Regions from separate parts of the Homo sapiens genome. Here regions 1, 2, 4, 5, 6 and 7 are each linked to region 3. The links are contacts of gene promoters, found by promoter capture Hi-C in blood cells and fetal thymus (Javierre and others, 2016). All regions are on one chromosome and are shown on one strand. Each heading gives the region's core, a stretch centred on a gene start or on the middle of the fragment in contact. The rest is flanking DNA. Distances are from core to core; before and after follow the strand shown.

What was found. Contacts are between HindIII fragments. The CHiCAGO score rates a contact against its expected background, and 5 or more counts as called.
Region 1: a fragment that was not itself captured here is called in contact with the fragment with the promoter of TMSB4X in region 3 in 1 of 17 cell types (megakaryocytes); the score reaches 5.2 in megakaryocytes.
Region 2: a contact is called between a fragment that was not itself captured here and the fragment with the promoter of TMSB4X in region 3, in 2 of 17 cell types (total CD8 T cells and monocytes). The highest score is 6.5, in total CD8 T cells.
Region 4: a contact is called between a fragment that was not itself captured here and the fragment with the promoter of TMSB4X in region 3, in 1 of 17 cell types (M0 macrophages). The highest score is 5.9, in M0 macrophages.
Region 5: a contact is called between a fragment that was not itself captured here and the fragment with the promoter of TMSB4X in region 3, in 1 of 17 cell types (total B cells). The highest score is 5.8, in total B cells.
Region 6: a contact is called between a fragment that was not itself captured here and the fragment with the promoter of TMSB4X in region 3, in 8 of 17 cell types (neutrophils, M0 macrophages, erythroblasts and 5 more). The highest score is 10.5, in neutrophils.
Region 7: a fragment that was not itself captured here is called in contact with the fragment with the promoter of TMSB4X in region 3 in 4 of 17 cell types (naive CD8 T cells, total CD8 T cells, naive CD4 T cells and 1 more); the score reaches 11.3 in naive CD8 T cells.

The regions. Positions count from the first base shown.
Region 1 is chrX:13,614,860-13,618,919 of GRCh38, forward strand. EGFL6 (EGF like domain multiple 6) reads left to right here. Exons shown (of 12, transcript NM_015507.4): 8 at 2,871-3,194. Among named protein-coding and RNA genes, the nearest start is that of MIR6086, 27 kb to the left of the region's middle. The HindIII fragment of the contact is 6,179 bases long and covers 1-4,060 here.
Region 2 is chrX:13,697,728-13,702,002 of GRCh38, forward strand. All of the region lies in intron 1 of RAB9A (RAB9A, member RAS oncogene family), which reads left to right. Among named protein-coding and RNA genes, the nearest start is that of RAB9A, 11 kb to the left of the region's middle. The HindIII fragment of the contact is 5,121 bases long and covers 97-4,275 here.
Region 3 is chrX:12,972,567-12,976,745 of GRCh38, forward strand. It overlaps TMSB4X (thymosin beta 4 X-linked), which reads left to right and starts at 2,544. Exons shown (of 3, transcript NM_021109.4): 1 at 2,544-2,602; 2 at 3,680-3,795. The coding sequence starts at 3,696. RefSeq lists enhancers at 981-1,050, 1,061-1,320, 1,341-1,460, 1,584-2,423, 3,263-4,101. The HindIII fragment of the contact is 8,223 bases long and covers 1-4,179 here.
Region 4 is chrX:13,676,600-13,680,967 of GRCh38, forward strand. No RefSeq gene overlaps it. Among named protein-coding and RNA genes, the nearest start is that of RAB9A, 10 kb to the right of the region's middle. The HindIII fragment of the contact is 3,321 bases long and covers 517-3,837 here.
Region 5 is chrX:13,758,828-13,762,956 of GRCh38, forward strand. OFD1 (OFD1 centriole and centriolar satellite protein) reads left to right here. Exons shown (of 23, transcript NM_003611.3): 16 at 1,288-1,893; 17 at 2,258-2,384; 18 at 3,517-3,617. Among named protein-coding and RNA genes, the nearest start is that of OFD1, 26 kb to the left of the region's middle. RefSeq lists enhancers at 527-616, 1,923-2,422. The HindIII fragment of the contact is 2,363 bases long and covers 712-3,074 here.
Region 6 is chrX:13,510,702-13,514,558 of GRCh38, forward strand. No RefSeq gene overlaps it. Among named protein-coding and RNA genes, the nearest start is that of EGFL6, 57 kb to the right of the region's middle. The HindIII fragment of the contact is 4,936 bases long and covers 1-3,801 here.
Region 7 is chrX:13,716,527-13,719,226 of GRCh38, forward strand. It overlaps TRAPPC2 (trafficking protein particle complex subunit 2), which reads right to left. Exons shown (of 6, transcript NM_001011658.4): 4 at 8-152. It also overlaps a transcript of OFD1 not described here. Among named protein-coding and RNA genes, the nearest start is that of TRAPPC2, 17 kb to the right of the region's middle. The HindIII fragment of the contact is 3,043 bases long and covers 1-2,700 here.

The sequences.
Region 1 (4,060 bases), core at 1,367-3,866, 640 kb after region 3:
GCCTCAGCCTCCTGAGTAGCTGGGATTACAGGCACCTGCCACCACTCCCAGCTAATTTTTGTATTTTTAGTAGAGACGGTGTTTCACGATGTATGTTGGCCAGGCTGGTCTCAAACACCTGACCTCAAGTGATCCGCCTGCCTTGGCCTCCCAAAGTGCTGGGATTACAGGCGTGAGCCACCATGCCTGGCCCCTCCCACATTTTTATATTCTCAAAAAGATGATGCAATAATCAATAAATCTTTAAGAGAAAACCGTCATAATGTCAAATTTGAAACAGCAATACCTAGATAAATCCAAATCTACTTATGCATATGCATATCATTAAAGTGCATTTTTATCCTTGCCCAGCTTTCTGTTTACATACTAAGAGAATGAAATTGTCAACACTATCAAGATTATGATGTTTTAGTTTTTGTTTCTTTTCAATAGGAACATTTGAAACTTCAAAGCAGAAACTGAAAGCAGATGTTTAGGTTTGCCTGGTGTGAGCTGAAACCCTTTCCTCATTATTTATTAAAGGTCTTTAGTTTTATGTTACTGATTGCAAAAAGGAAATTTGCAGGGAATAGGGGTTTCCTGTTAATTTTTCTTGCCAGGTGCTGGAGAAAGATGCAGTCGACCATGGATGGAATTACAGTGGGGCCTCCAGAGGAAGGTCTATATATGATCACACATTACGGTCATAACTTAACATGCAATCTCTGGCAAAGTAGCTGAAACAGGCTATCTGAAGGTCAGGAAAATGAGTAATGATGCATTACTTGTATTAGTGCTTGTTGGTTTTCTACCTATAGTCAGGCTGTCACAATGATAAATAACTAGAATATTTCATTGAAAAGAAAAATGTTGCTCTTTTGATTCCAAAGTAAAAGCAATTATTAATTAAGAGCATACATATTTTCAAAGCATTTTTCCCCCGTTTGGTTACCCCAAATATTGTGGACTTCTGCTTGTTTATTTTTCTACTACTTTGATATAGATTGAATCAGCCAAATGATGGAGAAGGAACAAAGCAGGAGAAGAGGTTAAAACATTGTTAAGAAAAATATTCTAATAAAATCCCACTCCAATTTTTTATAGTACTCTTTTTAGGCATCAAAATTAATGTCTACTCCATTGTTTCACTTCTCTCTAAACTATGTCCAAATAATAGAATTAAGTGAATTGATTGAGGTGTTATTAGACCCTTTCTTGCTTAGTCTTAGATTAGTACATGCCTAGATATTTTATAGTGAGACAATATATTTGATTTCAAATATCAGTGTATTTAATTTTTTAAAAATTAATTACTTCTTTACATCAGTTGGATATTCTGAATTATCATGAGTATATCCCTGAAAAGGAGACATATATCTTTGAATTATAGATCTCAAGGAATTTGAAACAGTCTAGAGAAAAGTAACCTTAATCTTAAAGCAGAAATAAATCTATCATAGAAATAGGACTGGAAAAAAGAGACATTCATGGCCAGGCATGGTGGCTCACACCTGTAATCCCAACACTTTGGGAGGCCGAGGTGGGTGGATCACCCGAGGTCAGGGGTTCGAGACTAGCCTGGCCAACATGGCGAAACCCCGTCTCTACTAAAAATACAAAAATTAGCCAGGTGTGGTGGCACGCACCTGTGATCCCAGATACTGGGGAGGCTGACGCAGGAGAATCACTGCAACCCAGGAGGGGGAGGTTGCAGTGAGCCGAGATCATGCCACTGCACTCCAGCCTGGGTGACAAGAGTGAAACTCTGTCTCAAAAAAAAAAAAAGAAAGAAAAGAAAAGAAAAATAGTCATTCATATGCTCTACTGCCAAATCTTAGCTCCGTCCCTAACATGATGAGTGCCTTTGGGCAAGTCACTTAACACCCAGTTGCCTCATCGACAAGACAAGAGTCCTGGACTAAATGAACTTTTTTGTACCTCTTGCGTTCTTCGACACCAACATTTTTCCTCCAAGGGTCATTAGTCCACTGAGGGATAAGAAGAATTGATCTAGAGGTACATTTTTTTTTTTTTTTTTTTTTGAGACGGAGTCTCGCTCTGTCGCCCAGGCCGGACTGCGGACTGCAGTGGCGCAATCTCGGCTCACTGCAAGCTCCGCTTCCCGGGTTCACGCCATTCTCCTGCCTCAGCCTCCCGAGTAGCTGGGACTACAGGCGCCCGCCACCGCGCCCGGCTAATTTTTTGTATTTTTAGTAGAGAGACTAGAGGTACATTTTTAAAGTAATTTACTTTTGTGGTGGGAAATAGAAAACGAATGAAAAATAGTAAGTATAGAAGCCTCTCTGAAATATTTAATAAATAAACTCATTTAGCTTTAGATAATGGTTGACTGAGGTGAAAAAATTCAAAGGGGAGAGAGAAGAGAGAAAGAAAATTGGGTATGTGTATATTGCACCATAAGTCACCATTTTTGTAGGTCACAAATGGTCCATTATTAGCAATTTATATGGTTCAACCTAATGCTGTAGCTGTAATTTTTGAATATCAAATTTGGACAAATCTATAGGGCTATCAGGACAATACCAGTTTTTGAAGAATACCACAATGAAAGCAGAAATATTAGACGAACATGGCAAATCCATGTCTTTGGGATCTGTAGCCCAACTGGGTAGTAATAAGTGTTTCACTAAAGTGGTCTCCGAAGCAAAACAAAAGCAACAAAAGGTAATTAAGATAACTACCATAACAGTGGAACTGCTTAAAACAATACAAATATAGTTCTTCCTAATTTATCATCAAATAGTAGAGCCTCATGTGGGTTCATTCTGGAAGCATTCACTTACTACACTTTAACACTTTTTAAATGCTCCATTTTGTGAGTAATTTAATTATCTTCCAATTTGGAACATATTGCCTCTTATTTGTTTTAGCTATCCCTGAAAATTCTGTGAAGGAAGTCCTCAGAGCACCTGGTACCATCAAAGACAGAATCAAGAAGTTGCTTGCTCACAAAAACAGCATGAAAAAGAAGGCAAAAATTAAAAATGTTACCCCAGAACCCACCAGGACTCCTACCCCTAAGGTGAACTTGCAGCCCTTCAACTATGAAGAGATAGTTTCCAGAGGCGGGAACTCTCATGGAGGTAAAAAAGGGAATGAAGAGAAAATGAAAGAGGGGCTTGAGGATGAGAAAAGAGAAGAGAAAGCCCTGAAGAATGACATAGAGGAGCGAAGCCTGCGAGGAGATGTGTTTTGTGAGTGTTATTTTTATTTTATATGTTTTATGAAAAATGAATTGCAATTTCTCCTGGCAAATGAAAGAAGACAAAAAGCCGGTTTCACAGCTTAAGTAAAATGGGTTGGGTCTTAAGTCCTGAGAAGCAACATTCTCTGTAATGTCTAGAAACGAATACCTTCTGCAAATACCCAATCAAACCTGCTGCTCTAGGAACCAAGGAGGGGAAGTCCTGTTCCCCTACTTGGGGGGTTTCCTATTTGACACAGACCTTCTCTTCTAGCTTCCAGCCAAGGAAGCCTGCTAGTCCTGCAAGGGCAGTGGTTTGGCTGCCCAGCTCTCCATGAGGCATGCCCCCAAATCAAAGAGAGGCTCACCACATGGATCTGCTAAGCTCTACCTTTTTATTTCTTGAAGGCACTTTTACAGGCCTAGTCTATGAAAATGGAACCTCACAGTTGTATGGTTGTGATTTTAAAAGCCAAAATCGACAAATGTAGGAGGACAAATTTTATAGTGGAGCTTAAGTTTTCTATGTGAACTAGAGAACTGCCGTAACTCCCTTTTCACTAGTTGCTGTGCAGAACCCACCATAAGGCTCAGTCCCCCCAGGAGGGTTTCCATATTAACCCACCCTGCATCTCTACACTGAGACTTTCCCATTCATTCTGGCTGGGCATTTGTTGCTCCCTCTATATTTTGCCTTATCTAGTCTCGGCTCTGTGACTGGTGGTCATATATACAAATGCCAGATGGATTTAACCAAAGGAAAAGTAGACACAGGCCCACCCGTCCAAGAACTAGCATCCGGTGACATTCTCTGCCTTAATAGAGAGTGAAAAATCTCAAAAAAAGAAAAAAAAAAACATATTTCCAAAACCTAGT
Region 2 (4,275 bases), core at 1,407-3,906, 730 kb after region 3:
GATGCAGGCATGTAGCAATCAGTTCTTGGTGTCCAAACTCCTTAAGATCTGATGAAACATTTTTTGTTCTTTCCAGAAAAAAAGCGCAAGCACACAAGCTTCCACCAATGCTCTCATCCTTATTTCACATGTGATTCTAGGGAGTGTATTTTCTCCCTGAAGCTCATTTCATGGACTCCCAATTAACCACACTCTAGGCCTGCACTGTCCAACACAGTTCCCACTAGCCTCATGTAGCAATTTAAACTAGTTAAAATTAAATGAAAAATTCAGTTCTTCAGTTAGACCAGCTACTTTCCAGTGCTCAGTAGCCACATGTGATTAGTGGCTACCATATTGGACAGTGCAGATTATAGAACATTGTCGTCATTGCAGAAGGGTCTGTTGGATTTTGCTGCACTATATAGTTTCATGATGGTTTAAGATTTAGTTCCTTAACTAAGTCTTCTTTTTCTTTTTTTTCTTTTTTTTTTTTTTTTTTTTTTTGGCCCTTCTCACTTCCTCCTTTCCCACTCCCCCCACCACTGTTAGTGATTAGTTAACATACCTACAGAGGTGCCTTGTTTTAAGAAAAATGTTAACATATTTCTTAAAAGTTAAGTTAGCTGATTCAGCTTCAAAAAAAGTTACTTAATTGAAATAAGTTCTTTCAATAGGGGAGGTGCTCTGACATAGCGATAGTATGGTTTGATAATACAGTTTTTCTCCTCTAGCTGCCTCCTGTTCTTGAGGTAATGCTCAGTGATTAACTAGATAGGACTAGATAATTTATTTCACCTTGGCAGGTCTTGCCTCCAAGTTGGCCTATTCCTATGGTATTTCCTTTTCTTTCTTTTGCTTCTTCCTGCACACTAAGTATGGTATTTTCTGACAGTATTTTTCTTAATTCTTTATTTATTTTTCTTGGTAATTTCTTGCTGTAGAGCTGGTACCCATTAGACATAATGACTTTCCTTGACTTGCTTCTTGCTCATAAATTTCTGTAAGACAATCAGGAAGTTTTTAGAAACAAACAGTGGAACCAATTAGGCTGTTAAGTGAGACACGCCTAAATTAAGCTATGAGGAAATAAATACAGCTCCAGCAAAAATAGAAATAATTTTCAGATTATCCATGCTTTTGTTTCCCTGGTTTTCTTTGAACCTCATTTCCTCAAGCTATGAAGTGAAATGAAGTGGTAAGTACACCTCTAAGTAGGACATTCAGGGTGAATCCAAAGGAACTTGTGAATTTGACCAAAAAAAAAAAAAAAATCTGTTCCTAAATTTAAACCAGGAGTGATAAATTCATTTTAAGTTTTTGGAGGGGTTACAGAGTATGTGTTTTAAAATCTCAAGTTTTGAGAAGGCAGTTTACAAATGATGCCTGCTCTCCCTTTGGCAGCTTATTAAGGAATGTAGTCGTTTTTCAGCATTTGCCAGCTCCCTGTCGCAGTCAGTCAATAGTACTTATTTTAAAGTGGGATTCTCATTGGGATTGCAAGTAAGAATCAATGTTTTTGTTCCTACCCACACATTTTAATAGACCTCAAAAATAGAATGCGGGGAGAACTGATAGAGAAACAAAGAATTTTAGGTACAGAAAGCACAAATAGAATAATAATAGAATAACAAGAATAAAAGAGGAAGTAATATACTCTTCGTTCTCAATGTAGCATTTATTTGCACCTCACCAAATGTAGAGCATTGTACGAGAAGTGGCAGAACAAAAAAGGGACAAGTGAATGGATGCAATTAGGTGTTGTGTGTCCCTCCCAGGGAGTTGACATTGTAATTAGGAAACAGACACATACACAACTGAAGGTGATTAGAGCATAAGTAAATGAGAGCTGTAAAGAGGTGGAAATGATGAGAGCAAAGAAAAGAGAAAGATTAGGTTGCTGGGGCGGTCCTGGCTTCCTACATGAGGTAATCTGGACTAGGCTTCTGATGACTAAGATTGTCATAGCTGTCGAAGTAGGGAGGGGCCTCCCAGGCCAAAGTAACAGCCCGAGCAAAGATATGGACAGAAAATGCCAGTGATAGGTGCGGGGATGGTGAGTAGTAGGGATATAATTGGGACAGGCTTGTAACTGACATTGAATAGCTCTTTGAATGCCATGCTCAAAATCCTGTATAATAAAAATAATAAATAAATGAATTTAGTTATCTGTCAGAATGGAGACAATTAGATCCAGGACCAATAAAAAAAGTCTAACTTCAGTCACATACACAGTCATATTAGAGATTTATATTCTTTTTTTTTGGAGACAGAGTCTCACTCTGTCACCCAGGCTGGAGTGCAATGGCACAATCTCGGCTCACTGCAACCTCTGCCTCTCCAACAATCCTCCTGCCTCAGCCTCCCAAGTAGCTGGAACTACAAGCAGGCACCACCACACCTGGCTAATTTGTGTATTTTTTGTAGAGATGGGGTTTCACCATGTTGCCCAGGCTGGTTCCTGAACTCTTGGGCTCAAGTGATCTGCCCATCTCGGCTTCCCAAAGTGCTGGGATTACAGGCATGAGCCACCGTGCGTGGCCAGCAGATTTAAATTCTTGATGCTTGGACCTTGAGGCTTTCTATTCTTCCCCTTGGTTTATTGTAGGATGTGGCTTTGGAAGCCAGCAAGGGGTTGGAGAAGGCCAGAGAAAAGGGTACTACTGATAAACTATTCATGAACAATTGATAGTATAAGATAAAAGTACATAATGGAAAAGTTGGGAAAATAGTGTTATAAGAAGGAAAGGGTTAACATAAAATGTTCTTTTGTCTTTTGAATTTTGCCGTATCTGCTGGCAATGTGGTTCATTTGTTTTCCTGCCAGTGACCTGCTTATCCAACTTTACATTCGGATTAGTGTATGACACATACAGCATATGTTGGTACCGGCACGTGGTGTGGGAATCCTAAAGTAGTGTCTGTTGTACATGTAAATGATTTATTTAAAGGGATGCTGCTGAAGGGACAAGGAGAACATTTGTAGCTCTAGTAGTGTAAATCTAATTCTAGGGTCATATTTTTAATTCTCAGGAGATTTGCACATATATTTTCACATACAGTAAAAATTTTTTTTTTTTTCAAGGTAGGGTCTCACTCTGTCACCCAGGCTGGAGTGCAGTGATGTGATCACAGCTCACTGCAGCCTTGACCTCCCCAGGCTCAGGTGATCTTTCTACCTCAGCCTTCTGAGTAGCTGGGACTACAGGCATGCGCCACCATGTCCAGCTAATTTTTGTATTTTTTGTAGAGATGAAGTTTTACCATGTAGCCCAGGCTGGTCTCAAACTCCTGAGCTCAAGTGATCTGCCTGCCTCTGCCTCCCGTAGTGTTGGGTTTACAGGCGTGAGCCATGGCGCCTGGCCGAATTCACCCTTTTAAAGTATACAGTTGATTGGTGTTTATAGTATATTCACAGAGTTGTACAACCATCACTACTATCTAATTCCAGAATATTTTTATTACCCCCCCAAAAAAACCCCATACCCATTAGCAGTCCCTCCTCCTTTACCTGCCACTGCCCCCCGCCCCATCCGTTGACAACCATGAATCTACCATCTCCATATTTGCCTATTCTGAACATTTTATATAAATGGAATCATACAATAGGTAGCCTTTTGTTCTGACTTCCTTCACTTAGCATAATGTTTTTGAGGTTTATCTACGTTACAACATTGCATGGATGTATGATGCATTTTATTTATCCATTCATTAATTGATGGACATTGTCTTTCTTTTTAGGGGAAGGTGGTTTGATAATAGTATGGGTATGCATTTTTTTGGTGCAATCTAAAACATTGACAACTCAGAAATGTATGGACATTTCTGTAATTGGATAGTACACATCCATGTAATGTGGGTTAAGAGAGCATGTTTCACTTTTATTAGACATAGTAGGCATGTCAATTACAGAATTCCTTATGGTAAATGGTAGAGGCACGCACAGGATGGTTAAGAGTGTCGAGGAAGGGGGTTCAGTTGGAGATGTCCAGTAGGTGTTCGGGAGGAGGTGAGGTCTAGCTGCATCCACACGGCTGACTAGGAGTTAGACAGGTAAAGGGCCAGGGATTTGAATGTGAACAAGGTAAAACACGAAGTCATATAGTAAATATCTTACTGGAGGATCAAGTGTGAGGTATAACCACCTCAATTTTCATTCGTAAGCCCAGCTGACACTGTTAGTGGAGAGGGATCATAGCAGCATCCATCCCAGCTTGTCCAAGGCCTTCCTCCCCACCTCACCCACAGCCCTTCTCCCATTGCATCCAGTTAGCTTTCTGGACTCCTTATCTGACC
Region 3 (4,179 bases), core at 1,294-3,793:
CTACCAGCTGAGGTAACCCAATGATGGCTCTCTAAGCCTCAGTTTCCCCATCTGGAAATTTCTTATGGAAAGGCGGTGGGAAAGAAAGGAAAAAACAAATGTAAAACTTACGTTACAATGCCTGACTCTTAGAAAATATCAACCGACAGGAGTTGTCATGTTTTATTTGCTGTAAAACTACCAAAAGATCTTCTATCAACATTTTGTAAGTGAAAATAATAATATATATTCATATGTATTAATTATATAGAAATAATATATAATAATATATAAATGTCTCTATAGGAGAAATAATATCAAGACACCTAAAATTTTTAATTAATTCTAAACACTAAGACAATTATTTTATTATTTTTCCTCAACCTTCCATCCTAAATCATACGAATAATAACAATAGAAAGAGCTTACTAATTGTCATGCACTGTCCGAAGCATTTACTCCTCCCAACAACCCTGTGAGGTCGGTGTTGCAATGAACCCATTTTACAGATGAGAAAACTCCAGCACAGAAAGATTCATTCACATGGCCAGAGTCATGCAACTTTTAAGAATATTCCTTTGGTTTGCATTTCCTTGTATCTGCACCACCCTTCCCTTTCCTGTCTCTCTAGGTCTCCTGACCGGTTGGCAGGTCAGTCCCAATCATGGGAACTCTTTTCCTTTAAGCAGTCGTCTCTCTTTCTCTTCCTCTCTGTTTCCACCTGCCCTCCATCAGTGTCTCAGCACAGTGGAAGGCTGCTTGCTACCGCACTGGAAAACTTCTCCAGACATTTCCAAGTTTGCATTCGTCCATCTCCTTTGGAGAATTGCTTCAGTGAGGCCTAACCCTTTCTGAGGAAAGGCCCTTGGGAGAAGAAGCCAGGAGAAGGTAGTGGCACTCCTTTGTCATCAGGAGACATTGGGAGGAAAGAAATGATTTTCGACAGCAGCTGGGTGAGGGGAAACAGAATCACAGAACCTGCGGAAACGGTGTCGGTACAACGGCAGCTGCCAGCTAAACGGGCGAAAAGGCACCCTGCAAGATCTTTTCTGTGTTTCAACGATGAAGTAGACTCCCAACATGGAACAGGGGCGGGGGGGCTGTTACCAGACAGGTGACATTTGGTGCATGCACGAACAGGTCCAGTGCCCCATTCGGAGGCCAGGAAGGCAGCCACCCAGCAGAGCATTAACTAGGGGACCAGACGGTCACCTGCCCCTGCTCACCCCCACCTCCTTCCTCCCCAGGAAAAAGGAAGTCAAGTAGATGGAGAAACGGGGAAGTCCAAGCTGCTGGCAGTGGCATTCAAGGGTCTATATATAAGGTTGACTCTAATCCCCAGCGAGACAAAAGCCTGTGCCATAAAAATGATTAGCAAGGGGTTTCTAAAAACATTTCCCCAGGCCACGGAAAAGGAGAAGGAATATTTTGCACACTGCCTTGTCTCTTAGAAATAATCACAGCTAGGCCTCTTTATAACCGGCGAGTCTTTTTCCTTTCACACGCCATTTGCAGGCGCGTGGCATGGTATTTGTAACTAATTTTCAGTAGCAAGTGGGTCACTGGTATTCACAGAGTCAGGTGCCATTTTGAAAACTGCTTCCCTCTACCCGAATCTCTTATATTTCCAGATGCAGATGCACTTCAGCGATGTCCTAGTGCTGGAAACGCTCCCTTGAAAATATAATTTGATTTTTGAATTTCATCTTAAGACATTAGAGATAATGTAACTGTAGTCTTTGGAATTCAACGCTGGCCTCCTTAGCCATCACTTTTAAAATTTATGAAAATAAGGAAGAGGAAGGTAAAGAACTTCCTCATTGTCCGGCAGTAAAGTCAATGGCAGAGCTTGAGCTTGACTTATTTTGCTAAGAGGGAGGTGTTTTACCCTATAAACTCCAAATTACCTTACACCCAGCAAATACTACTGTTGAGTGCTCACAAAAATTATGCTGATGAAACAATATGGATGTTTCAGTGATGAAACTTTCTCTTTTAAAATCACTTAAGGGTGCTTTACGTCCCACCCAAGGCAAGAGGAACGCCAGCGAGGAAGACAAAGAGGCCCGGGGTGGGGCGCATGCCCGCCACTGGACTGAAAGCTGAGTCACAGGAATCGTACCCCTGCAGCGGGCCAGGCCCTCCAGGGAGGGACACCGCGCCCTTGTGTGGAGATGTCCACAGTAGACAAAGGCAGTTTCGAAATAAAAGAATGCCTGTCACCCCAGGTGCCACCCCGACCCTTAGTTATTATGCACTGGTCCCCAAGAGCAATTTCTGCGCTGCTGTTGCAAAAATTCATCGTAATGAAATAAACGTAAAAGGGGAAAATGTGTTATGAAGTGTTGGAGGGTGCTTTGCTCATTTTTTTCGCCATCGTTGTGGTTAGGGTGCATGCACTAGTGGACCCCGGGTGGGGGTGGGGCTCCCCTCCCCAAAAGCCCGGCAGGCCTCCGGATGCCGTTCCGAGACGCGGCGCGAAGGAGTTAAGCGGGCCGGCGGGTGACATCACCTCATTTACATAGGAGCGCCCATAAAGCTGCGCCCGCCGCACCCCGCCCGACAACTCGGTGGTGGCCACTGCGCAGACCAGACTTCGCTCGTACTCGTGCGCCTCGCTTCGGTGAGCCCCAGGGCCCCTGCCTCCTTCCTCCTGCCGTCCTGCCTCCGTCCCCGCCCTTTCATCATCCGCGTCCCTGTGAAGGCATTCCCTAAATCCGAGCCCGAGTGGTTCTCCCCGGGAAGGCTACTTTGGGGAGCTGGGGGGATGCGAAACACCCTAGATACTGGATAATGGGGTGGGGAAATCGATGATTTAAGAACAAAACCGAAAAACTGGCGTTTTGCCGTGCCGCTCGGAGGGGACATTAAAAAATTTCTTAGTGTTTGCCCGCAAAGGTATTGTGCGTTGCCTTGGAGGCTGAGATATGGGGGAATAGACAAGTCCTTTGTTCTGAGGTTCATCTTCCGAGCCCCGAGCCTCCTCCCAGCCTCGGACGGCTGCGCGGGCTGCATCTGTGCAGCCTGGCGGCGGCGGGGCTGTGCTATGACATCTTTACAGTCCTTCTTGCAGAGACATGTGTGCCAGGGATGCCGAATTGCCGGGAGAGCAGGCAAGACCGGCTTCGGGGCGCGCGGCGGCCGCTTTGTGTGCGGGGCTGCATTGTGACGCGGGCGATGAAGCCGGTAGGGCGGTGGTCGGAAGCTCCAGCCGCGGCCGCCGCCTTTGTGAGAGGACTAGAAAGCCGGATCCGGCCCGCATCCTTGCGGAGAGGCCGCGGCTAGGAAATGGAAACGCTTTTCCTACCTGGGCTCCATTTTAGGAATTCTTGCCGATTTTTCCCACTTGAATTTGGAAGTGGCTTTCCTCTTCTTTCCTTGTCCTAGCCAGCCTTTAATTTTAAACGCTGTAATTAACAATTCGCAGTGGTCAATTTCCTTTATTCTGCAAGATTCGGCTTTGAGAGGCATCCGCCCTCTTTGGTCCACAGCGTTTTGAAATATGGGGAGGAGGGGCGCGGGGGGTGTCGCCTCTTTTTCTGTAGAAAGAGGAAGCTCGTGAGCGCGGAACGGCAGCAGTAGGAGAGCGAGAAGGGTTTTTTTCAGGCTGCGGGTCGGAGGGCAGAAGTGCAGTTCCCAGCCCAGAGACAGCGGGGCGGGTGGCTCTTCCTCACGCTCGCTCTTGGCTTGCTCCCTGCAGCTTTTCCTCCGCAACCATGTCTGACAAACCCGATATGGCTGAGATCGAGAAATTCGATAAGTCGAAACTGAAGAAGACAGAGACGCAAGAGAAAAATCCACTGCCTTCCAAAGAAAGTGAGCTCCGACCCACCCCCATCTTTAGAAAGGCTGGGTGGGAGCGGCCGGTGGGAGGGCGGGAGGCTGGGAGCGGCCGCGGGAAGAATTCGGGAGGGGGGAGTGCGGGGGAAGAGCCGACAGTTGATGAATGTGGCTTGCAAAGGTTAATTAAAAATGGTTTTGCAGCCAACAAACACGGGGCTTTAGTAATTTAGTAATGGAATATTTAATATGCCATATTAATATACAAACATTTATCCATTAAAATGTATTTCTATTTAGTATATTCAATATACATATTTTATTCCATTGTGGAATACCGTGTAGAATGTTTATGATTTGAAAAGATGCTTTAAATGAAAGCCCTTTAGTCTGTACTGAATCCTTTAATCATCTCCCTCC
Region 4 (4,368 bases), core at 927-3,426, 700 kb after region 3:
TGAAAATAATTTTCCCCAAATCATATACATAAACACTATTTGTAACTCACGAGTTTTTTAAAGTTTATATGCATTTATTTTTGTTATAATTCAGTGGCTTTTAGTATATTCACAAAGTTGTGCGATTATCATCATTATCTAATTCCAGAATGTTTTCATTACCCCAAGAAGGAATCCAGTACCAGTTAATAGCCACTCTCTATTCCACCCTCTTCCCAGCCCCCAGCCCCCCAACCGCCACCTACTTTCTGTCTCTATGGATCTGCTTATCCTGGACATTTCACGCAAATGGGACCATACAATATGTAGGTTTTTGTGTCTGGCTTCTTTCACATCATTTCTTTTTTCTTAACTCAAGAAGTAAACCATATTTTACTAACCAAATAAACTATACTGACCTTTACTTAAAGTACATCTTTAGCTGAATTTGCATAAATAATTTGACATTTCTACCTGTCACAATTATACTCCTTCCAACTTTTGTGTCAAAAATTATTTTTGATTAACCACATGCAAAGCTTGACATTTTGAAATTCAGATACTCACTGTTATCTACAGATGAAGGTCACAAGATTTTTTTTTCTTTAAAAAAAAGGAAGCAAGGATATTTTACCCTAGTTTTGTAACTTATTTGGCAAAAAAGAATTTAATGAAATTTCATCACTAGAGCCATTGTGTTTAGTAAGGACAAAATTTAGGAATGCTTAGAAGTTGGATCAATTTTTTTCTCCCCTGTATGTCTCCTCCCAAACATACATATCCTGTGGTATAAAATATGTAGGCCGGGCATGGTGGCTCATGCCTGTAATCCCAGCACTTTGGGAGGCCAAGGCAGGTGGATTGCTTTGAGCTCAGGAGTTTAAGACCAGCCTGAGCAAAATGGTGAAACCCTGTCTCTACTAAAAATACAAAAATTAGCTGGTGGCTCATGCCTGTAGTCCCAACTACTTGGGAGGCTGAGGCCAGAGAATTGCTTGTTGAGCTGAGATTGTGCCACTGCACTCTAGCCTGAGAGACAGAGTGAGACCCCATCTCAAAAAATATACATATGTATGTGTGTGTATGTGCGCGTGTGTGTGGGGGTGGTATACAATTGTTTGCATTGCATGACTTATTGAAAAGTAATCTGTTCCTCACACAATTCCATTATATCTCTAAGCTACAGAATTCCATACTTAGCCCATCCTATGAACTTCCTTTATTCCATCTCTGCTCTATCTTATCACTGCTTTATATTATTTGTGAACATGTTTTATTTTTTTTTCTTTAATTGCCCATCAAGTTTCCTATGCAGGTCTTAGTAGTGAGATTTACATCCCCTCAAAGCCCCAAGGTTTAACTCTAGGTTTGGCAGATGCTTAATGCAATTTTGCAAAATAGATTTTTACTTCAAATTACAGTAGAATTTCAATATGCCCTCATCTTTGCTTTGGTTTTGTACAGTGATGTCACACTTTAGAAGCCCTGCATCTAACCTTAATAAATGGGATCAAATATTACTATTACTAATGTTTCAAACCCAATCTCCAGAAAAATAGATTTTTCAAGATAAATTCATTTCATTCATGTTATGGAATTTAAAATTTACCAGATTAATAACAAAGCCCTGAGTTGGGCAATCAGGCAGGAGAAAGAAAAAAAGGGTATTCAATTAGGAAAAGAGGAAGTCAAATTGTCCCCGTTTGCAGATGACATGATTTTATATTTGGAAAACCCCATCGTCTTAGCCCAAAATCTCCTTAAGCTGATAAGCAACTTCAGCAAAGTCTCAGGATACAAAATCAATGTGCAAAAATCACAAGCATTCCTATACACCAATAACAGACAAACAGAGAGCCAAATCATGAGTGAACTCCCATTCACAATTGCTTCAAAGAGAATAAAATGCCTAGGAATCCAGCTTACAAGGGATGTGAAGGACCTCTTCAAGGAGAACTACAAACCACTGCTCAACAAAATAAAAGAGGACACAAACAAATGGAAGAACATTCCACGCTCATGGATAGGAAGAATCAATATTGTGAAAATGGCCATACTGCCCAAGGTAATTTATAGATTCAATGCCATCCCCATCAAGCTACCAATGACTTTCTTCACAGAATTGGAAAAAACCACTTTAAAGTTCATATGGAAACAAAAAAGAGCCTGCATTGCCAAGGCAATCCTAAGCCAAAAGAACAAAGCTGGAGGCATCACGCTACCTGACTTCAAACTATATTACAAGGCTACAGTGACCAAAACAGCATGGTACTGGTACCAAAACAGAGTTATAGACCAATGGAACAGGACAGAGCCCTCAGAAATAATACCACACATCTACAACCATCCGGTCTTTGACAAACCTGACAAAAACGAGAAATGGGGAAAGGATTCCCTATTTAATAAATGGTGCTGGGAAAACGGGCTAGCCATATGTAGAAACCTGAAACTGGATCCCTTCCTTACACCTTATACAAAATTAATTCAAGATGGATTAAAGGCTTAAATGTTAGACCTAAAACCATAAAAACCCTAGAAGAAAACCTAGGCAATACCATTCAGGACATAGGCAAGGACTTCATGTCTAAAACACCAAAAGCAATGGCAACAAAAGCCAAAATTGACAAATGGGATCTAATTAAACTAAAGAGCTTCTGCACAGCAAAAGAAACTACCATCAGAGTGAACAGGCAACCTACAGAATGGGAGAAAATTTTTCCAATCTACCCATCTGACAAAGGGCCAACATCCAGAATCTACAAAGAACTTAAACAAATTTACAAGAAAAAATCAAACAATCCCATCAAAAAGTGGGCAAAGGATATGAACAGACACTTCTCAAAAGAAGACATTTATGCAGCCAACAGACACATGACAAAATGTGTATCATCACTGGCCATCAGAGAAATGCAAATTAAAACCACAACGAGATACCATCTCACACCAGTTAGAATGGCGGTCATTAAAAAGTCAGGAAACCACAGGTACTGGAGAGGATGTGGAGAAATAGGAACACTTTTACACTGTTGGTAGGACTGTAAAGTAGTTCAACCATTGTGGAAGACAGTGTGGCAATTCCTCAAGGATCTAGAACTAGAAATACCATTAGACCCAGCCATCCCATTACTGGGTATATACCCACAGGAGTATAAATCATGCTGCTATAAAGACACATGCACATGTATATTTATTGCAGCACTATTCACAATAGCAAAGACTTGGAACCAACCCAAATGTCCATCAATGATAGACTAGATTAAGAAAATGTCGCACATATACACCATGGAATACTATGCAGCCATGAAAAAGGATGCGTTCATGTCCTTTGTAGGGACATGGATGAAGCTGGAAACCATCATTCTGAGCCAACTATCACAAGGACAGAAAACCAAACACCGCATGTTCTCACTCATAGGTGGGAATTGAACAATGAGAACACTTGGACAGAGGTTGGGGAACATCATACACCAGGGCCTGTCATGGGGTGGGGAGAGTGGGGAGCGATAGCATTAGGAGATATACCTAATGTAAATGAAGAGTTAATGGGTGCAGCACACCAACATGGCACATGTATACGTATGTAACAAACCTGCGTGTTGTGCACATGTACCCTAGAACTTAAAGTATAATTTAAAAAAAAAAGCCCTGAGTCATAACAGTCTGTGTTAGATTGTATTCTTGTTCAAATATTTGATGACCCTCCCGGTGGGACCATTGTAGGATACCACATCACTCAGATCAGGCTTTTCCATGTGATTTGCAATGTCCCTCTCTTTAGGAAGATTATACATCACGATGTGTGACTTGCTTTGGTGAACATCATATGAGGGGAGATGATGAACATCACTTCTGTGTGGAAGCTTCAAGAGCCAGCAGGGGTTTTATTTTTGGTCTCTTTTCTCTCAACCAGTGATACCTGCAATATATCAGACAGAAGCTGATCCATTAGCTCAGGTTCGTCAGGTCCAGAGGGAAGATGACATGGACGGGAACCACAGCTGACCCATAATGGACATTAAGGTGAGAAATAAATCTTTGTTTTTATAAGCCACTGAGGTTTGTGGAGGTCATTTTTTACCACAGCGTAACTTAGCCTAAGCTGACAGATAAATAAGTTTTAAGAGAGATAGAATTCCATTTACCTGCATTTATATTATGAATCCCAGTAAGCTTAGACTAGATAATCTATAAGACATCTACTTCTTCTAACTTAGAAAAGGAATTTATTCAGGGAGATATTAAGTAGCTCTTAGAGGCAAGGCTGAAGTTTGGAGTGTGGGCAGGCACCAAAGGGAATCCACGAGGCTGGAGCTGCAGCCATGGCCGGAACGTGAATGACCTGATTAAGATGCTGTCACTGTTAGGTACTGGAAACTGCCACTGGCATTC
Region 5 (4,129 bases), core at 643-3,142, 790 kb after region 3:
TTTAGCAAAAAGAATATTGCCTTCAGAATCAGAACTGTTCTTCTTTTGGACCCGTTTTGAAGTTGTTTGACCTTGGGCATGTTACTTTAACTTCCTTGGGCCTCAGTCTCCTCATTTGTAATGGGGATAATAATACCTACTGAGCCATGATGAAAAAGATGAAATGGGTTTCAGTCCAGTGCCTGGGACATAAAAGACACTCAGGAAATGGTTATTGGTATCATTTTATTATTGTGTCTTCACTGTGGATGCATCTCTGCCCCTTCCTACTTCGTAAGAAGGATATTAAAGTTCAGATACTTTATTCTTCAGTTGCTTTCAAGTTCAAAGAAAGTACGTATGTGTTACCAGTTCAACTGGGTCTGAGCCTTCCTTGTTCCCACCTGCATTGTTTCCTCATCAGCTCCTTGCTCTCTTCTACCAGCACTTGTTTTATTTTTATCTCTACTCGTTTCTGCTTTTTTCTGTTCCTCATTTTCTTTCAGTTCTGTTTGTGAAACTTCTCACAGCTGAAATCATAGCAGTCTCCTATCAATAAAAAATAGTTGAATGAGGATAGAACTCTTTCGCATGCATGTGTTGCCGAGGGCAAGCTTCTTTCTTGTAGCATCACGGGGAGGCATTGCAGGAGAGAGGGGCAGGTGCACTGGCTTTGCATTAGGAAAGCCCAGTAGCTCTTAGACTTGCTAACCGTGTGACCCAGCCTCAGTAAGCTTTAGTCCCCCCATCTGTAAAATGGGAGCAGTGAGAGTTTCTTGACCACAGTGTTGTTGTGAATGCAGGTCCTCACTTCCTTATATGAAACTCGGGCCATATGCTGTGGATTTCGCAATAGCCCTGGGAGTTCTGAACAGCATCCTATAGTAAAGCACATTAATTATTTTGCAGTCAACTGTATGAATATTCATGCTGGGATAAATAAAGATTATAAATGGGTTTACATCAGTTCAGGTCAAACTTTTCAACCAAATGAGTTCAAGTCTGGTTGGGCTTTGCCACCAAATAAATTATGAATAAATTTTCAGTTCTCAGAGCCTTGTGGCTTTCAAAATTGTGCATAATGGATTCTGAAATTATATCATGTTACAAAAGACATACAAAGCTGTAGCTGGTACAATAAGCTCTCAGTAAATGTTAGTGGTTATCGTTACCATGGCTTCAGAAACTGTATAGTGCAAGTTTGTCCTTATTACTCTCTTCCATTTTTCAAAAAAATAATATTCTCAAGTATATTTTCTTCTCTGCCTTGTCCACTTACTTCTGAAATTGGCTTTTTGTACCCTGCAGCCCTAGAGAATGAAGTGTACTGCAATCCAAAGCAGTCTGTGATCGATCGTTCTGTCAATGGATTAATAAATGGCAATGTGGTGCCTTGCAATGGTGAGATAAGTGGGGATTTCTTGAACAATCCTTTTAAACAGGAAAACGTTCTAGCACGTATGGTTGCATCAAGGATCACAAATTATCCAACTGCATGGGTGGAGGGTAGTTCCCCTGATTCTGACCTTGAGTTTGTAGCCAATACTAAGGCAAGGGTCAAAGAGCTTCAGCAAGAGGCCGAACGCTTGGAAAAGGCTTTCAGAAGTTACCATCGGAGAGTCATTAAAAACTCTGCCAAAAGCCCACTAGCAGCAAAGAGCCCACCATCTCTGCACTTGCTGGAAGCCTTCAAAAACATTACTTCCAGTTCCCCGGAAAGACATATTTTTGGAGAGGACAGAGTTGTCTCTGAGCAGCCTCAAGTGGGCACACTTGAAGAAAGGAATGACGTCGTGGAAGCACTGACAGGCAGTGCAGCCTCGAGGCTCCGCGGGGGCACTTCCTCCAGACGCCTCTCTTCCACACCCCTTCCAAAAGCAAAAAGAAGCCTCGAAAGTGAAATGTATCTGGAAGGTAAGCCACCCGCACAAAGGGTTGCGGGGTGCTCTGGAGTTGGGTAGCCACCCTGCCCACGACACAGGGTTGCCGTGAGGGTCAGCGGGCCAGAGTGGCAAGGTCTAGTGTTTGGCACACAGAGCTGTTTAGAGAGTGATAGTTGCCTTGCCTTTGCTGCCTGTTGGTTTCCTGCATTTTATTATTGCCACTGCAATTTAATTTAGGTGCTTGAATCATTAGTTTTCTGGATCTTATGCATCATAATTGGCTATTTGTGAGGATAACAGTTTATTTTCAAACTAGTAGAGCTCTTTAGAAACCACGTTGGTATCTTCTCCGTGCAATTGGTAATATTCTTGCCTTGGTTCTTTCTGCACCTTAGGTCTGGGCAGATCACACATTGCTTCCCCCAGTCCTTGTCCTGACAGAATGCCCCTACCATCACCCACTGAGTCTAGGCACAGCCTCTCCATCCCTCCTGTCTCCAGCCCTCCGGAGCAGAAAGTGGGGTAAGTATAACGTTCTGATTGATTAGCTTCAGCTGAATAATGTTACTTGCTCTGTCAGCCTTCACTTGTTTTACTGGGATTTTTTTTTTTTGAGATAATTATTATAGATCATGTGGCAGTATAGAATTTGCAATCAGATTGCAAAATGATATGTCATCTTTGAGAATCATCTAAATTACCTGGAGGGAAAAAGATTGCTTTTAGCAAATAAGTGGATAATGCTTATTTGCTAAACTTGATATATGGACCATGCAATCTGGTATTAATAAGCATCTTCCTAGTTCTGTGAATAGATTTGGTTTATTAAGATAAAAAACAAATGTACAAAATCTGAAAGCAAACAAATGGAGGTTATTTATAAAGTTGGAACAATTTTACACATCATTAAAAAGTCATTTTTAAAATATTTTGGCATTGAAATATAAACAGATAAGGTTCTGACCTGCATATCATTGAAATAAATTCAAACGTGGTAGCAGGCTCTGGTGTATGATTGTTGAAACAGGAAGGAGTGGATGTTTTTAGAAACTAGTCCACTGGGTCAGCCAGGCTATGATTTGAGTCATGAGCAGACTCCTACCCATACCTGGGCCCCACAGCAGAGGGAACTGACTCCTTAGCTCCAGGCTCGATCTCGGGCATCTGCATGTTAATGTAGTTCTCTGCCACATGGGCCTGTCGTAGTCCTAAAGCTTTTTTTTTTTTTTTTTTTTTTTGTGATAAGCCAAAAGGAAGGATAAGACACACACATATGCTGAGTTAGGGCGCTTTGCTCACTCAAGGTTGTGGTGTTGCATCTTCATCTGGTTCATGCTGATAGTGTGCAGAATTTTTTTTCAGAAATGTTTTATGGTTATTTCCTAGGAATAGCATTCAGAGTACAACATTATTCTTTATTAACAACTGTAGTACCTACTTCACAGCATGAAATAGTTACAAGGAGTAACTGATTAAACAGGTATTAATTGCTGAGAACAATGCCTAGTGGTGGTGGTGAGGTGGAGCTATTTACAAGACAAAGAGAAAGGGAATTTTGTAGAGCCTTTTCTTGAGTCACAAAAGGCTTTTTGTCACCTTGTACTCTTTGGTTTTCCATTATTGAAACTTCACGAGTTTTATCCTTCCAATCTAGTCTTTATCGAAGACAAACTGAACTTCAAGACAAAAGTGAATTTTCAGATGTGGACAAGCTAGCTTTTAAGGATAATGAGGAGTTTGAATCATCTTTTGAATGTAAGTTCAAATATAAATACCAGTTTTTATATGTTGAAAATCTAGAAAGCTTAGTTTTGGTGAAACGTATCCATTGGTTTAAAAAGAAAAGCAGTTACAAATTGGGTCATTATTATTTTGTGATACAACCACAAGTACAGATGTATCACCTCATTTTTCTACCATGATGATTTTCATGTGTGTGTTTACTTTTTAAAAATTTCAGTATGACTAATAATTTCAGAGTTTGAGCTAAGCTTATAAATGAATTATTAACTTATCAGATTTTAAATAAGTGATTTTTATTTATTTTTTCCTTTGATGGAATACAAGAATGTTTATTTTTATTTTTTTGAGATGGAGTCTCTCTCTGTTGCCCAGGCTGGAGTACAGTGGTCCGATCTTGGCTCACTGCAATCTCCCTCCTCCTCCCAGGTCCAAGTGATTCATCTGCCTCAGCCTCCCGAGTAGCTGGGACCAACCACAGGTGCATGCCATCACACCCAGCTAGTTTTTTTGTATTTTTAGTAGAG
Region 6 (3,857 bases), core at 84-2,583, 540 kb after region 3:
AGAATATTGCATAGTTGTTGTGCAAAAGTTTTTGATATGCAAAAAGGATATCTTAGGTCCGTTATGGTGGCTCACACCTGTAATCCCAGCACTTTGGGAGGCTGAGGAGGGATGATTGCTTGAGCCCAGGAGTTCAGGATCAGCCTGGACAACATGGTAAGACCTCATTTCTTTTTTTTCTTTTTTTTTTTTTTTTTTTTCAGAGGAAGTCTCGCTCTGTCACCCAGGCTGGAGTGCAGTGGCAGGAGCTCGGCTCACTGCAAGCTCCGCCTCCTGAGTTCATGCCATTCTCCTGCCTCAGCTTCCCAAGTAGCTGCAACTACAGGTGCCTGCCACCATGCCCAGCTAATTTGGTGAGACCTCATTTCTACAAAAAACACAAAAATTAGCCGGATGTGGCGTGCACCTGTAGCCTCAGCTACTCAGGAGGCTGTGGTGGGAGGATCATTTGAGCCTGGGAGGTAGAGGCTGCAGTGAGCTGTGATCACACCACTGCACTCCAGCCTGAGTGACAGAGTAAGACTCTGTCTCAAAAAAAAAAAAATGCAATGACAGGACAAGAAATAACTGTTTAATGTATTAAGCCCCTGAGAACTGGAGGTTGTTTGTTACCCAAATTAGTGTTAGTTTCCTTAATATAGTGACATGACAGAGAAGTATTTTAACAGAGTTGAGGAGATAACAGCTAGATTGTTGTGGGTTTAGAAATAAAAGGAGGGGTGAGGAAGTGGAGACACTGGGTTGAAATTGGTCTTTTGACAGAAAATGGAAGAAGTGAGATAAGAGAATAGCTTGAGAAGGAGGCAGCAGTATGGGACAGTTTTTCCAGAAGAGGGAGACTTGAACAAATATTTACACCTTAGCACACAGCACAGTACACAAGAGATGCTATAAGTAACTGTTGAAGTAATGAACAAATGTATGAACAAGTGAATTAAAATGTTGAACATATCTTACCACTTCTGAGGCAAATCTCAGGAATATTTTATTGGGGAAAGAGGAACACCCAGGAATTTAATGTAAATAATTCTTTTATTTATTTATTTATTTATTTATTTATTTATTTATTTATTTATTTATTTCAGACAGGGTCTCACTCTGTCACCCAGACTGGAGTACAGTAGTGCAATCACAGCTCTCTGCAGCCTCAACCTCCCGGGCTCAAGCCATCCTTCCACCTTAGCCTCCCAAGTAGCTGGGACTACAGGCACACACCATCACACCCAGCTAATTTTTGTATTTTTTATAGATTTGGAGTCTCACCATGTTGCCCAGGCTGGTCTCAAACTTAAGTGATCTACCAGCCTCAGCTTCCCAAAGTGTTGAAATTGTAGGCGTGAGCCTCCACACTCAGCCTAAAGAATTCTTTCATGAAGGGAAGCACATGATAAATGAAAGAAGACTGCAATGGGGTCAAAGGTCAAGAAAGAAATTTGGCAGCAAAATGAGAGGCACCTCTGAGCTAAGGGATCATTTGTCTTCTCAGCAGACAGGTCTGAGCGTGAGATTTTGTGAATGGTGTCCTCCTCTAAGGAGAGACTGTGGGTTCCTTGTGTTTCCCACAGCAGACTGTGAGGGGAACCTCCTGGATGCTTCCTGGGACCAGCCATGCAAGGGTCACTCTGGCCTGCATTCAATTTCTCATACTTTCAGGAATTACAGGCACTTTTCAAGTTAAGAAGTCACTCTAAAAAGAATCACGAAGACATACTGACATTGTGATAGCTGCAGACTTCTTAGGGACTCTCAAAGTGTGAAGGAAGGGAAGTAAAGGCACCAACACAGCTTCTTAGAGCCTTTCCTCCCTCCTCTTTAATACAAATGGTAGCACGTGGCACATGCTGCTATACCCTTTGCTTTTTGCATCTAACCATCATCACAGGTTGCTTACTGTGAGATGAAGATTTGTATGCAGGAAGTTCATTGGTGGGGACCCTGCAGATCAAGACTTCTGGGAGAGTAAAGGAAGTCAGACTGGGCAGAGGGAGGATTTGGGCTGCTATGCAAGTCACAACAAAGACCTATGCAATCCTGCGAGAGTTCTAGACTTGGGAGGGCTCTGACGAGTTGTCTCAAATTAGCACAAAGAGGCTAGGCCTTTATAACCTCACACTGATCAGTCATTAGAAGTGGGCTGCCCAAGAAAGGGGTCACAAACTTGGAGAGGTGGCTTTCTTCAGCCAAGGGCAATTTCCAGACGGGAATTCAGCTGTAAAGTGTCATTTGCCAACTTTTCCAGCATCCGAAGGGATAAGTGCTTCAGTCCTGGGGAAGTGGGGGTGGGGTTATGGCTTGGAGTCCTTTCCATATTGATATAAAAAGAGCTGCCTGGTTCTTTTTCAAAGATGCATGGTATTCCATTGTATGAATGTATAATAGTTTATTCACTAGTTATTCAACATTTAAAATTTTTTAAAAATTTTTTGTGGGTACATAGTGTATATATTTATGGGGTACATGAGATTTGATACTGGCATGCAATGCATAATAATTACATCATTGAAAATGAGGTATCCATCCCCTCAAGCATTTCTCCTTTGAGTTACAAATAATCCAGTTATACTCTTATTTATTTTTAAATGTATGATTAAATTATTATTGAATATAGTCACCCTGTTTTGCTATCAAATACTGGGCCTTATTCATCTATCCTAACTATTTTTTGTACCCATTAACCATCCCTGCCTTCCCTCCAGCCCCTCTGCCCCCAACTACCCTTCCCAGCCTCTTGAAATCATTCTTCTATTTTTTTTGAGACAGAGTTTTGCTCTTGTTGCCTAGGCTGGAGTGCAATGGCGCGCGATCTCAGCTCGCCGCAACCCCTGCCTCCTGGGTTCAAGCGATTCTCTTGCCTCAGCCTCCTGAGTAGTTGGGATTACAGGCATGCACCACCATGCCTGGCTAATTTTGTATTTTTAGTAAAGGCAGGGTTTCTCCATATTGGTCAGGCTGGTCTCGAACTGCCCGCCTCGGCCTCCCAAAGTGCTGGGATTACAGGCATGAGCCACCGTGCCCGGCCCATCCTTCTATTCTCTATCCCCATGAGTTCAATTGTTTTGATTTTTAGATCCCCAAAGTAAGTGAAAACATGCAATGTCTGTTTTTCTGTGTCTGGCTTATTTCACTTAACATAATGATCTTCATTTCTATCCATGTTTTTGCAAATGACTGAATCTCATTCTTTTTTATGGCCAAATATTACTCCATTGTGTATATGCACCACATTTTCTTTATCTATTCATCTGTTGATGGACACTTAGGTTGCTTCCAATCTTAGCTACTGTAAACAGTGCTGCAACAAATACAAGAGTGCAGCTATCTCTTCGATATACTGATTTCCTTTCTTTTGGATATATACCAAGAAGTAGGATTGCTAGATCATATAGTAGCTCTATATTTAGTTTTTTGAGGAACCTCCAAACCATTCTCCATAATGGCTGTACTCATTTACATTCCCACCAACAGTGTCTGAGGGTTCCCTTTTCTCCACATCCTTGCCAGCATTTGTTATTGCCTGTCTTTTGGATAAAAGCCATTTTAACTGGGGTGAGATGATATCTCATTGTAGTTTTGATTTGCATTTCTCTGGTGATCACTGATGTTGAGCACCTTTTTATTTATCTGTTTGCTATTTGTATGTGTTGTTTTGATAAATATCTAGTCAAACCTTTTCCCCATTTTTAATTGGATTATTAGATTTCTTCCTATAGAGTTGTATGAGCTCCTTATACTTAATTGACAGTTGGATTGTTTTAAATCTTTTCTATTCCAAAGTATACTATAATATGTAACTTTGAATTAAGCTTTTTCACATTTGTAGGAGTTTATCTGCATAAATTCCAGGGTAAGTTTCTAGA
Region 7 (2,700 bases), core at 1-2,500, 740 kb after region 3:
AGGATATGCCCCGCAGTGACAAATGCCGACACAAACCACTCGTTGAACTTGTCCACAGTTTTCAAGTACATGTTGTTCGATAGCCACATGTTCTCATCTACGAGGTCGAGAGCAGCATGAGCTATGAACTGGTTCAGATGACGATGGTCGTCCTAGATGACAGTGTGAGCAACCACAGATTAACATTTGCATATGGCATCGAGAATGCTGACATTTCATTCTGTAAATTCTATAGATGGTTTTCTTGTGGGGAAAAAACAGTTTGCTTTTATACTTTGTTATTGTCATGAGACTTATAAAAGATCTGTTTTCATATTATATTCTATTTTTAAATTTGATATCTACATCTCAACAGAAACAGCCAATTAATAAATGAAATGTGTATATAGAGGATTTATACAAAATCATTTATTGAAAATCTTTTTCATATAAATTTTTTTTCATGTTTCAAGAAGGAAGTTACCGAATTCTGTAACCATCTAAACATGTAAAAAAAGGATACTATGTTAAAAAAAAAAAAAAAAAAAAAAAAAAAAAACAAGATCCTGTGGAGAAGAGGTGCCATTCACACTAGGCCTCAAGGTCTGGGAGGAAACTGAGAGGGCGGGGCTTCCTGCACAGTGGCACCAGGTAAGCAGTAGAGACAGTTGAAATGGCGCTTATAACGGCCTGCCAGAGGCCTCTTTCCAGTGCATGGAGCTTACATGACAGCGGGACCTAGGAGTAGTGGGAGGTGATGCTCAGCCCCAGCTGTGAGCAGTCGCCTGTGTCAATAGCAGGACACAGTCCTGTCAGAGCTGGGAGTGTCCTTTTCCTGGGCTGAAATGGCTTAAGTGAACAGAAGGTGGGACTGTCTGACCATAATGTGAAGACGGAATTCAGAACTTGGAATGCAGTCTTACTCCAATGTAGTTCTTTGAAAATACATTTTTTGGCCAGGCGCGGTGGCTTATGCTTGTAATCCTAGCACTTTGGGAGGCTGAGGCAGGTGGATCACCTGAGGTCAGGAGTTCAAGACCAGCCTGTCCAATATGGTGAAATCCCATCTCTACTAATACAAAAATTGGCCGGCTGTGGTGGTGCATGCCTGTAATCCCAGCTACTCGGGAGGCTGAGGCAGGAGAATTGCTTGAACCTGGGAGGCGGAGGCTGCAGTGAGCCGAGATCACGCCATTGCACTCCAGCCTGGGGGACAAGAGCAAAACTCCGTCTCAAAAAAACCCAAGCCATTTTTCAAAGAATACCTGTTATGGGTTGAAGTGTTTCCTCTCTAAAATTCCTTTGTTGAAGTCCTAAGCAACAGTACCTCAGAATGTGGCCTTATATGGAAAGAGGGTTGTTGCAGATGTGGTTAGCTAAGATGAGGTCACACTGGAGTAGGGTGGGCCCCTAATCCAATGGACTGGTGTATTTAGAAAAAGGGAACATTTAGAGATGCACACAGGGAGAAAAATGCCACATGAAGACTGGAGTTATGCTGCCACAAGCCAAGGAACTCCCAGAAGCTGGGAGAGAGGCCTGGACAGACCCTTGTCTTTGTGCCTTCATAGGGAGCATGGCCCCACTGACACCTTGATTTCAGATGGTGGCCCTCAGAACTGAGACAATAAATTTCTGCTGTCCCAAGCCACTCAGTTTTTCGTACTTTGTTACAACAGCCATAGGAAACTGAGACGGCTTCCTTGCCAAGGAGGCTGTTCTCATGCCTGGGCTGGAGGAGGGCGGCCCGTTGCCGTGGAATCCCATGCATAGTTAAAGCATGTTTTACTTCACTCATGTTGCCATGACAAAGCTAAGTGAATCCTTAGAGAAATGGATGTTTTTGTGTCTGGCTCACAGCAGTGTTTTCTTTTACAATGATGATCAATCCTGAAGAATTAGGAGCAAACTGAAAACGCTTTAAGAAAGTGAGTGGTAGCAGGAGAAAGAACTAAAATCAAGTTATGCAACAAAGTATTTTTATGTGTGCTTTGTCCAACACAAGGGCAGTGGAGTGCACAGAAATTACATACAAGTAGCTGCATCCCACAAAGCAGTACTGGTACAGAGATACCTCAAAAACAAGTTTTAATGAGTAGTGTTCTCATAATATGAGAAAATAATGTCACAACTCCACCTCATAGAGAATCCCGTAAACAAATGCCTATCTTATTTTGGTGGCAAGGCCTGAATAGTTGAAAAATACCATATATTATGCATTACAATTAACTTAAAACATCAATTCCTTAAAGGACATTAAAGCCAATTTTTGGAGGTTGGGAGAAACATAGCAAACTTGTCAGCAATTTATTAGAAACAGAAATTGGAAAGAACTGGGCTCTTCTCGTGTCAAAACTCTACAGGTCTGGGCCAGGTGTAGTGGCTCATGTCTGCAATCCCAGCACTTTGGGAGGCCGAGGGCAGGCAGACCACCTGAGGTCAGGAGTTCGAGACCAGCCTGGGCAACATGGCGAAACCCTGTCTCTACTAAAAATACAAAAATTAGCCTGGCACAGTGGTGCGCACCTATAATCCCAGCTACCTGGGAGGCTAATACAGGAGAATTGCTTGAACCCAGGAGGCAGAAGTTGCAGTGAGCTGAGATCGTGTCACTGCACTCCAGTCTGGGCGACAGAGCAAGACTCTGTCTCAAAAAGAATAAATAAATAAGATCCAAATGGTTTTATTTTAAGCATTTGGGATGGTAATCTTTCTTAAAAT